Regions from separate parts of the Homo sapiens genome. Here all the other regions are linked to region 2. Evidence: promoter capture Hi-C in 16 types of primary human blood cells and fetal thymus (Javierre and others, 2016). All regions are on one chromosome and are shown on one strand. The core of a region is centred on a gene start or on the middle of the fragment in contact, and the rest is flanking DNA. Distances in the headings are between cores, read along the strand shown.

The links. Contacts are between HindIII fragments. The CHiCAGO score rates a contact against its expected background, and 5 or more counts as called.
Region 1: a fragment that was not itself captured here is called in contact with the fragment with the promoter of MSRB3 in region 2 in 1 of 17 cell types (M2 macrophages); the score reaches 5.1 in M2 macrophages.
Region 3: a fragment that was not itself captured here is called in contact with the fragment with the promoter of MSRB3 in region 2 in 4 of 17 cell types (erythroblasts, M2 macrophages, megakaryocytes and 1 more); the score reaches 9.1 in erythroblasts.

Annotation. Positions count from the first base shown.
Region 1 is chr12:66,050,402-66,053,799 of GRCh38, reverse strand. No RefSeq gene overlaps it. Among named protein-coding and RNA genes, the nearest start is that of LINC02425, 21 kb to the right of the region's middle. The HindIII fragment of the contact is 6,832 bases long and covers 1-3,398 here.
Region 2 is chr12:65,276,384-65,280,057 of GRCh38, reverse strand. It overlaps MSRB3 (methionine sulfoxide reductase B3), which reads right to left and starts at 1,375. Exons shown (of 7, transcript NM_001031679.3): 1 at 1,193-1,375. RefSeq lists silencers at 626-935, 1,036-1,165. The HindIII fragment of the contact is 13,781 bases long and covers 211-3,674 here.
Region 3 is chr12:66,110,339-66,114,166 of GRCh38, reverse strand. No RefSeq gene overlaps it. Among named protein-coding and RNA genes, the nearest start is that of LLPH, 18 kb to the left of the region's middle. The HindIII fragment of the contact is 1,421 bases long and covers 947-2,367 here.

The sequences.
Region 1 (3,398 bases), core at 713-3,212, 770 kb before region 2:
ATGGATAGATTCAGTTTGTGAAAATTCAATAAGGTGTCTACTCATGAAATATGCACTATTCTGTTTGTGTATTACACATAGATAAAAATTTTAAAAATAAACAAAATTTGTAGTCTTATTTTGAATTATGTAATTGGCTGCTGAAACTCACCACCTCTGGCCGTCTTCCACTGGTCCCAACTCCCCTTTTGTTACCAGATCAACAAACAATTTTCTGGTGAGAAAATGGTAAGGTAATTGTTCCAACAACTGCAAATATAAGTATTTGTTAGACCAAAGACTCAGAGTGGAAGTTAACCCTGGTGAAGGAAATGGGCTGCTTACCTGTTAAATTCTTTTCATCTCTTGGTTTCAGTAATCTTAAAAGTTTTGCACTTTTTTCTATTATGTTGACACATTGGGTACTGAGTGTGCAGACCTGAGGCATCTTGAGTGTGCTTTAAAATTTTTTGCTTAAGTAACCCACAAGACTCCTACATTCTTTAGTTTTGCCTGTATTGAGAATCAGCAGTTACTTTTAAGTTTTAATAAGTTTCACATGTTTTGTAGTGAAACTGTGTTTGGTTAATTCCAATCTTTAATTAGTAGCCTCTGGATTGGTGTATACCAGACACAGGGATGTTATTAGTGCGAACTGAAAGCTATGTGTGTTCCTCCATAACAGATCAAAACAAACCTTGTGTGCTCTGACAGCATTAAACCCCACTGAGACCTGACCAGGATATGGTTTTCAGTTGTAAAAGAAAATTGTAATTCACAAGTCCTTGCCAGATGTTGTACCCCAATATCTCAGCTTCATTACATCTACCCCAAAGTAGGTGGTGATATGAGGGTTACCCAAAAGGGACCTGTTTGGTTTTTAAAAAATCATTTAAAAATTAGGTCATTGAAAATATTTAAAGTGGGAAAATTGGTGCATCTTGTTTTTTTAAACTTTGTAATTAAAAATCTTTTGGGATGGCAAATTTTGGGGAATGTAAATATTACTTTACAGTTTAGAAGATAGCTTTGAAATCCTCATATATAAGGTACATTTTCTTGACAATGTTGAATCAAGAAGAAAATTTGCATCTACAAAATATAAAAAGATATTAAGATAAAATAAGTGGAAATGAGCAAACTTGAATGAAAACACAGATTAGGGATCTGGTGTCTGTTTCAAGAAGCAAACGAAAGAATTCTAAGATTTTTCTTATCTCAAACTTGTGCCACATTGTGGATGCTACCAAGTGCAAAATTACAAAAACTTTGATTAGCTTGACCAAGACAAAAAGAGCTAATGCATTTTAAAAAACTAGTTTGATTGGCAGTGGCCTCTGAAGTGTGGAAAGGTATCAGATAAAGTTCAAATGCTAATGTAAATGGTATATTTACAAGTGGTTCATGTGGTTATGTCAGGATGGTGAGATTCCACCTATCTTGGAGTTTAACACATGACTGTGAACGCCTAGACTCCTAGGCAATTTAGATGGTCTTTCCTTGATCATTCTGTTATACGACTTCGGCAAAATATACATTTTGTACCTTACATTTCTCCTTTCTGAAACTATTAGATTTCTGAATGTTTTCTTTGGTTAGACAATTGGTCTTCTTCTAGCACTTATTTCAATATAACTTTAATATAATTTCACAGTAATATATAATGCAGATGGTAAAATATAGTAGTAGCTTTCATCTTATAGGCAAATCATATTTTATCTGGTTGCAACTATAAAAAGTTATTCCTGAAGGAATGCCATGGTAAGAGTTTCCCCCTCCTTCCCCCACAGTGGGATTTTACTGTAGTAAAGATCAATGTTAAATCTTGGTGATTTAAAATTTAAGTTATATATATTCCCTATAAAGAAGTAACTACAGAAAGCAACTCCATGGGTAATCTGGTTATGAACATAACTTGACACTAAATTCCCTCTTGACTAATTTGAAAGATACCACTATGTTCCTTTGTTTTTAGAAGCCCCCAATTGCCTGTCATTGACAAAAGAGCAATGTTTTAAAATGTGGTGGAAGGATGTTCTTTTTTAAAGACACTCCCCTCTCTCTTTTCACGCATTTTGAACTTATGAGGAAGCAAATAATCACATACTGAATTTAAGAAAGAGTGTTTTCTTGTATCAACACCAGGAGCAAAAGATTTTTTTTTTTAAACAGGCTTTTAGGATCCCCAGTGCTAATTCCTATGTGTGAACTAAGCAATAAAACCACACAGGCGAACTCGAACTAGGCTCTGAGGTTGGAGAATAAATTTAAACCTTCTTTGGAATTTTTCCTTTTGACTTGTTTTATTCTCCAGATACAACCACAGAAGTGGAATTCATTGTTCTTCATGCTGTGTATAAATTGTTGTTGGCACCGAATTTTTGAATTATATCCTCTAAACATCCTTCAGAGGGATAGAGTTTTTTACTCTTTCCTCTCCATTTTAAATTTAAAAATTTCAACTTCAAGAATTAACGGGATTGAAAGGTCTCTTCGTGGTTTATTATCTGTTCAGAGTTTTCATTAACAATTCATTTTGGAAAATTTACCCGCTTTCATATTAAAACAGGTAGATAATGAGTTCCTCGTTTTATCTTGCTATGTTTTCCTACAGTGAAAAAGATTTAAAATCATTATCTGTAATTCTAAACAATCTCCAGCCCTTGAAAGGCTATTAAATACAGAAACCAAGAAAAATATGTTTTTTATAATCAGTAATACCTTAATATTTTATGAGGACTCTAAATATGTGATTCTGTTGGTATTTATTGTTAGGCTAATGAATTGTTTTAATTGCTGCTGAATTTTTGTAAAATTAAAATTGAGAGGCATTTTAATTCAAATTATTATTTTTATTAACACAAAGAGAAGTACTAGTACCTCCTTACTTGTGGAGTGCATGTGCACGTGTTTTGAAAGACAAACCTCCCATCACTTCTCCTTCTACCTCTTTGTAGTACAGAGTGGTACAGTTGCAACAGCAGAGGAGTTGTTCCTGACTTCTGGTCTTCATCCTGCCTCATGCTAGCAGTATGACTTTAGGTAAGTCCCTTAATTTCCTTAAGTCTCAATTTACTCAGCTCTAGAATAGAAGAGTTAATAAACACCTGCCTCAAGGGTTGTTGTTAGTGGCTACACATCTTGTACACTGTAAATGATGTGTTACCATGTTACCAACCAGGGATAAGTATCTCAATAAGTAGCTCTTCTTTTGGCTAATATATTACCTAAGGCAATGGGGAGATAGTGGTTAAGTGATAAGCCTTTGGAACTAGACATTCCAGAGTTCAAAACCTGGTTCTGTGTATTAGCTCTAACAAACTTTGACAAGTTTCTTTATCTCTCTGACTTTCAGATTCCTCACCTGTAAAAAGGGGTTAATGAAAATACCTCAAAGAGTTACCAAGAGGATTAAGTGA
Region 2 (3,674 bases), core at 126-2,625:
GAGATAAACCAGAGAGTACTGAATATAATCTATGCTTCATAGAGTCATGTTTCAACTAATTTATGAGTCCTAGTTTGCCATATCTTATTTGACAATTTAGTCTATTGGTAGAAAAAACAAAAGCAAACTAAAATCTCCTAAGAAATCTCAGCTCTAAGGAATTATAATTTATATTCTTCCATTCCCGATAAAATTAAGAAGCAAGAAGCTTTGACGACTACTCATCACAAACGTAAAAGTCCATGCAATTTCACATTTACCTTTATCCCTACCTTTGTACTTTAAAATAACTGCTTTTTAAAATAATAATCTGATATTAAATTCCCCCCAACAGTTCCCACATGATTCAAGAAGATTATCTTATAAAGTCTTACTGTAACGACTTCATAACTGCCACTTCCGATAGCTATTAGCCCTAAACCAAATAAGGCAGGAACAGCACTTTTCATTCATATAGTTTGACTCGAAATAGCCCAGTGTAAAACTTCAAAAATAGACTTGGATGCCTTTTTCTGCTTAAAAACAAAGCAAAACTGATACCTGGCAAACTCGGGGTTCTGTTCGATTTTGGCCTGTGAAATGCCAGGCGGGCCCGCTGGAGTCTGGCCCAGCAGCGGGGCAGCAGCGCAGGGAGGGCGGGCGGCGGGTGCGCTCCCGGGTGCGCCCCTCCCTGCCGCCTGCCCGCCGCCCCGCACCCCCGTCCTCTCCGAGGCGCGCGGCGAAAAGCGCAGGCCTGGCGGGCCGGTTCCCACGCCTCGGGCCCGTTATCTGAGCGGCAACCCCGGCAGGGTCGACGCACAGAGCAGAGGGCTCCGGGATGGACCCCTCCCCTGCCTCCCGCGGGCTGCCCCGCCAGATCCCTCTCTCCTGGGCCCGCGCGGGGCGAGAGGCTCCCGCGGGTTCAGGTTCGCTCCCGGGACAGGATAAGGTGTCAGTGAGGCTGCCAGACGCCTCCCTTCGGCGGGTGGGGGGAAACCAGCCCTGACCTCCTTCCGTTCGGCCCCTCACCGCTGGCGCGGGGCGCAACCCTTCTGCTCCCCTTCTCGGCTGAGGCAGGGGCTGTCCCCGCAGGTGGCCGAGGGGGCGCAGCAGGCGCAGAATGGAATCCCGGCTCGGGGTCACACCCTAACGTGGCAGGGTCGGGGTGGGAGGGGTGAGGCGAGGAGGAGAGGGGAGGGGAGCCCGAACTTACCGGACTGCGCACTTCCCAGAGCCGCGGCCAGGCAGAGGCAGAGGCAGAGGGAGAGGCAGAGCGAGAGGGGGCGCGGGAGGGTCCGCCGCGGGCTCATGGAAAGGCCAGGCAGCCGCCGCCGGTGTCCGAACCTCGCTCCCTCCCTCCCCGGCTCCGGGCGACGGACGGGGCGGCGGGAGGCATGACGGGAAATTCCTGGGCACGGGCAGCCGAGTCCAAATATGAGCATAGGAGACGAGCGAGGGAGGACCACGGAGCGCGCCGGCCGCGGACGGGGCCCGCTGCCCGGGGCTCGGCGGCCGCCAACTCCCTCCTCCTCTGCCCTGTCCTCTTCCTCCTCCTCCTCCTCCTCTGCACCGTCCTCCTCCTCCTCCTTCTCTGCCCTGCCCTCCTGCTCCTCTCCTCCCCCTCGTCCTCCTCTGCCCCAGGGCTGCCGGCCGCCTTCTGCCTGGGGGCATCCCTTTCCAACTCGGGACCCCAGAACACAGCCAAGCGCCCACCTGGCGTGTTCCACCTGAGACCGCTGAAGGAGTGGGAAACGGACAAACCAACACGAAGAGACCGGACAGCGAGCCAGGGACCTGTGGGAAGACGTGTCAGGGGTTGTTGAGAGCGTTGGTGGTGAGGGGATAAAAAGTTGTGGGAGAGTGAGGCAGGAGCAGGGCTGCCAGTTAGTTACTTGGCCATCCTATACATACAGAACGAGCACTCACTGTAATACGGAGAACCAGCCGCCTGCGTTCCAGGTGAGCGGGCCCTCTCTAGCAGAGGAGGGTGAGTGTGTGTGTGTTCTTGGCCAAAATTGCAAAGGTGCTCGTCCCAAACTTATATTTGAACACCATATATGGAGCCCAGGCAGGCTGGCTGAACAGTAGTTTTTCACAACAAAATGCTTAAGTTTACACCGGTCTTTCTCTCCACCTCCAATCTCTATTCATGTCCACCCCCCAACCCCCTCCACACACTTGTTTTGTATGTACCGTAGCTTGTCTAAAATGAAATGGTGTAATTCATTCAGAAGGTGCCACCTCTGATGAACAAAATGTCAGTCCTAGATGTTTAATTACAGGCCCAAGCCTGTAGTTGCCTAATTTTCCTTGGCACTGATAACTCCTTGGGTAATCAAGTCCAAATGACCCTTAGCTTTTCAAGACAACATAATTATGTCTTAATTACTATAATATATTTTTTCCCTCAAACTAATGGGACAGGACCTGGATATGTAGGGTATTAAGTAGTTACTTACGAACATTTTAAGATGCTAGATGATACAGAAATGATTTATTGATCCAAAATACTTAAGGGGTAAATGTCAAACAGATTTAGAGTGTGGATTATTTCAACGTGAACTAAAGTGATGGTAATTTGTACATCACACTATTTGTTTGAAAATGCTGTATTTGAAAATCAAGAACGTTGTTTCAAATCAAACTCAGTTCTGGCAAACTATTAAAACACATACACCAAAAAACAGTCCATTGCAAGTGGCTCCCCTCAAAACATCTGGTACTGAAAAACACCACATCCTGTGAATTACATATAGCAAATGGGCAAATGTCACCCTTAATGCATTGGCAATTATAATGGGACTAAGGGTAGATGACCCAGATAAAGTAATGGTGAATAAATTGTAATGCAATGAATAAAGGATTTAAATGACACATAACATGACTATTTAATTAGGTACCTAGAACCTAGGTAGTTGGAAATACTGAAGAAGCTCTTCAGTATTCCCTCCGTTTCCTCTTTTTTTATAGCCTTGTGTTACATAAGTGTCTGTTTTTCTACTTCCCCCACAACACTTTGCAAAGTTCTTTGCCCATAGTCCAAATGTTTGTTTAAAAACAAAAATAAAATGGGCACAGCCATTTGTAGAAAGGAATTTAGAAGCTCCCTAAGTGTAAAGCATGTTTCAAAGGATTGCAATAATTATGCCTATATTTAAAATATTTTAGTGAAGAACCTTACATACAAAAATATAGAATTATAAAAAATGCAATATCATTACAACCCAATTCATGTTAGTAAAAATAGAGAGTTCATTGTATCAACATAGCTGACATCACTGTCAGCAATGCCAACCACTATTCTAAAGGCTTGAATAAATATGCTAAGAGTGGCAGAAAAGAACTAAAGTTACTAAGTGCATGATAAGTGCCAGACACTGTGCTAGATGTTTTTTATAACTGATATCTCATTTAATTCTTACAAATATCTCTGAGATTATTTTTATCCCTATTTTACAGCTAAGGAGACTGAGGCATAGGTAAGTAATATGCTACCAGGAAGAAGTGAAGTAGTATTAGAATTAAATCCTCATTCTAAAGTGCATATATACTTTTACCATACTAATCTGTCTTATTTTCTCTACATTAAAAAAAAGTGGCATTCAAAAACTGTATTCATTGGGCGCTTTTGGTTTTAAGTAACTGGTATGCACTCAGGTTACCTCAAGTAACCAAGGTAAAGAATACATGTGGAA
Region 3 (3,828 bases), core at 408-2,907, 830 kb before region 2:
GCTTTACAACAGGTGTAGGTGCTATGGTTTGAGTGAGTCCCTCAGAATTCATGTGTTGGGAATTTTGTCCCCAGTTTGCTAGTGTTGGGATGTGGGGCATTGAAAAGGTGACTAGGTCATTAAGTGGGATTAATGCTGTTCTCGAGGGGCTGAGTTAATTCTCGAGTGAGTGAGTTTTCCCTCTCCTGAGACTGGATTAATTACTGCAAAAGCAGGTTGTTATAAAGCTAGCCCACCTCTTTGTACACAGGCTCACTTGCCCGTCCTCTTTTCTGCCATGCTATGGAGCAGCAAGAGGCCCTCACCAGATGCGCTAACCTGATCTTGGACTTTCCAGCCTCCAGAACTCTGAGCTAAGTAAATCACTTTTCTTTATAAATTATCCAGTCTCAGGTATTCTGTTATAGCAACAGAAAATAGACTAAGATAGTATGCAAATGGGCTGGCCCTTTGTTTTTGTAAAAAAGTTTTATTGGCACAAAGCCATGTCCACATGTCCATGAATTGTCTGTGAATAATTTGTGCTACAAAGGCAGAACTGAATAGTTGTGACAGAGATTCTTGTATAATCAGCAAAGCCTAAATTAAAATTTGGCCTTTTAAGAAAAAGTTTGCAGACTGCTGCTTTAAAATATTTTCTATAGCAAGAAGTACCACTACTGAAAAGAAAAATGAAAAGTAAAAAAATAAAATATTTTCTGTTTGTTAAATGAAGGCTTTTGTTCTTTATTTGAAAATTCAGGTGAGTTGGATCTGGTTTTATGTTTCCATCCTGTTGCATTTTATATTTGGAGAATCCCTCCAAGTTTCTTATTGGAAGGCAGTTGTATTAAAAAAAAAAAAAATAGACAAGCTTACCCTCACTCTGTATCAATGCAAGGCAGGTGGTACCAAAAGGTTGTTTGTATGTTTAGGTGTGTTCCCCATCTGCCACCTCAACTAAGCTTCTTTTAGTCTTTGGACTTAAAAAAAAAAAAAGATTGTCCCATTGTAGAGCTTTTTTCACAAATCTCATAACTCACTTTTCCCTTAAGTCTACAAACAATTTTTGAAAATGTTAAATGCTGGAGAAAGAACTCTGTTTTAATTTAATATGGCACCTAGAATACTGGCACATGTAAAGACATTCCAATTTAGTTTGATTTGGTGGGTGGTCTAGCTGAAAATACACTTACAGGTTGGTTTCATTAATAGGAAATTAATATGGACTAAAATAGTCATAGCATTTAAGGCTGGAAAACGTTTTAGAGATCATCTATTTTAACTTGTGCTTCTTAACAGATGAGGAAACTGAGGCCAATTTCCCCAAGAGGTTAGTAGTTCATGGCAGAGACCAGGAGCCCAAGAGTCTTTGTATTCACAGACCAATCTTTTTCAAAACCATAAATAGGTGACAATTAACCACACAAATAATAACATTTGGACTAATGTCAAAATTAATTGTATTCTTTTCTATAAAAGAGGGGTTGTTAAATAAAGCTATGGTGTGTGACTAGTGATCTTTTCTGTAGGTCTGTTTCTGCCGTAGTTAATAACCAATCCTTTCCCATTGGTGGCTGTGCCTCTTTGTTCCACAGGTAGTATAACATCTTTTACTTGAAACAAAACAAAACAGCAGTAACAAACTTCCCCCCTCCCCCATGCCCTCCATCAAAGGCCAGATTTTTTTTGTTTTTGTCTCTACTCTTTCCCTTCTAATTCATCTTGTGTGGTTGTCAACTTCTTTTTCTTTCCATAACTTTTGTTGTTTTTTCTCATAAAAGTAACACATGTATGTTGGAGAAAATTTTAAAACCCAAGAAAGTATAAATGAAATAAATAATTCATAATCCAACCACCCAGAGAATGTGTAGCTCTGTGTATATTTTCATAATTGTCTTAATACTGTATAATTTTATATTCTGCTTTCTTAACTTTATATCATGGGGATTTTTTTCCCATGCTGCTGGAAATTTTTTAAGAGTGTTGTTTGAAAAGTTCCCTCATTCTGTCTTGTGATAAACTATATATTTTTTTATTTGTCTACTTTTGGACATTTAATTTTTTTCTGAAAAAACTTTTTATTTTTGCTATTAAAATACTTCTCTGTAATATTAATGACCTTACATGTAAGTCTAATCCTTATCTGATTATATTCTTGAGGAAGGGTTCTAGAAGAGTATGAACTTTTCTTTAAGACTCCTTATCTGTATTGCCAAACTGCTCTCCTGAAAGGCTGAAACAATTAGTAATCCTTCCAGGAGTGAGTGAGTGCTTGTCTGGGGTACCCTTGAAGGGTTGTAAAATTTAAGCCTTTTAAAACATTCCTTTCAGTAAGTCATTCTCCTGCTAGGAAACTTCCCATGGCTGCAAGACCAAATTGAAGCTTCTTAGCATACTCTCTTCCATTTCTTCACTTCCAGTTGATTTCACAACCACTGCAATCTGGCAGGTCTAACATTATATTGATGTCTAATACCAGGAGTGACAAATTGGTACCCTTGCCCTGGAGAGACTTTGTACAGTGTTCTGCTTTGTTTTTTTGATGAGATTGTTGCCTTTAGATGGGTCAGACACTTCTAAAGTGATCTCTAGCTAGACAGTCCCTTTTGTTTGACACACACTGACCGGCCCTGGGAGGAAACTGCCTTAGGTAAACCCATGCCACTTACGCTCTGTAATCTCTTTTCCTCACACACTCCATGGCTGTCACTGCCAGGGCATCTTGGCTTCTACTGCTTTTTCCTGAGAGAAAACAGTAGATATTTTATTGTGGTAAAATATACAAACATAAACATTTATCTTTTTAACGATTTCTAAGTGTGCAATTCAGTGGCATTAAGTACCTTCACAGCGTGGTGCAATCATCACCACTGTCACTACTGTTTCCAGAATTTTTTATCATTTCAAACAGAAACTCTGCACCCATTAAACAATTACCCCCCATTCTCCCCTCCCTCCACCCCTAGTCTCCACTATTCTGCTTGCTCTCTCTGAATTTGACTACTCTAGATACCTCATATAAAGGGAATCATGGAATATTTGTCCTTGTGTGTCTGGCTTCTTTCACTCAGCATCACGTTTTCAAGGTTCTCTATTATCCATCTTGTAGTATGCATCAGTACTTCATTCCTTTTTAAGGCCAAGGAATATCTCATTGTATGCATATATCACACATTGTGTATCAGGTTATCTGTCAATGGACAGATATATATTCTTCTGATTATTCCTCTGAGATGATTTTGAGGCCCACAGTGCCAGCTCACTCAAATTTCCCATTCTGAGAACTCTTTTTTTGTTGGTCTACCTCAATGTCATATAACAAGTGACAAAAACATAAGGGGCTGGGAGCAGGAAGGAGCAAAGGGAGATTCACAGGCTGTATGAATGTGATAATGATAAATTTTTACTTTTTTTGTAAAAAAAGAATGATTTAAAAAAACTCTTGGTAAACAATTATGACATAGCATTCACATTTTTGGTAGCAGATTTCAGGTGTTTTCAATACTTTTCAACTGATACAAATAGCTTTTTTCATTTGGAGAGTTGGTGGTGGGAGATGCACAGAGACCCTCAATGCTTTACTTATGCTGACTTGTGACATCTATTATTATTATTATTATTATTATTATTATTATTATTATTATTTTTGAGATGGAGTCTTGCTCTGTCACCCAAGCTGGAGTGCAGTGGTGCAATCTCAGCTCACTGCAACCTCTGGATCCTGGGTTCAAGCAATTCTCCTGCCTCAGCCTCCTGAGTAGCTGGGACTACAGGCATGTGGCACCAAGCCCGGCTAATTTTTTTTGTATTTTTAGTAGAGATGGGGTTTTGCCATGTTGGTCAGGC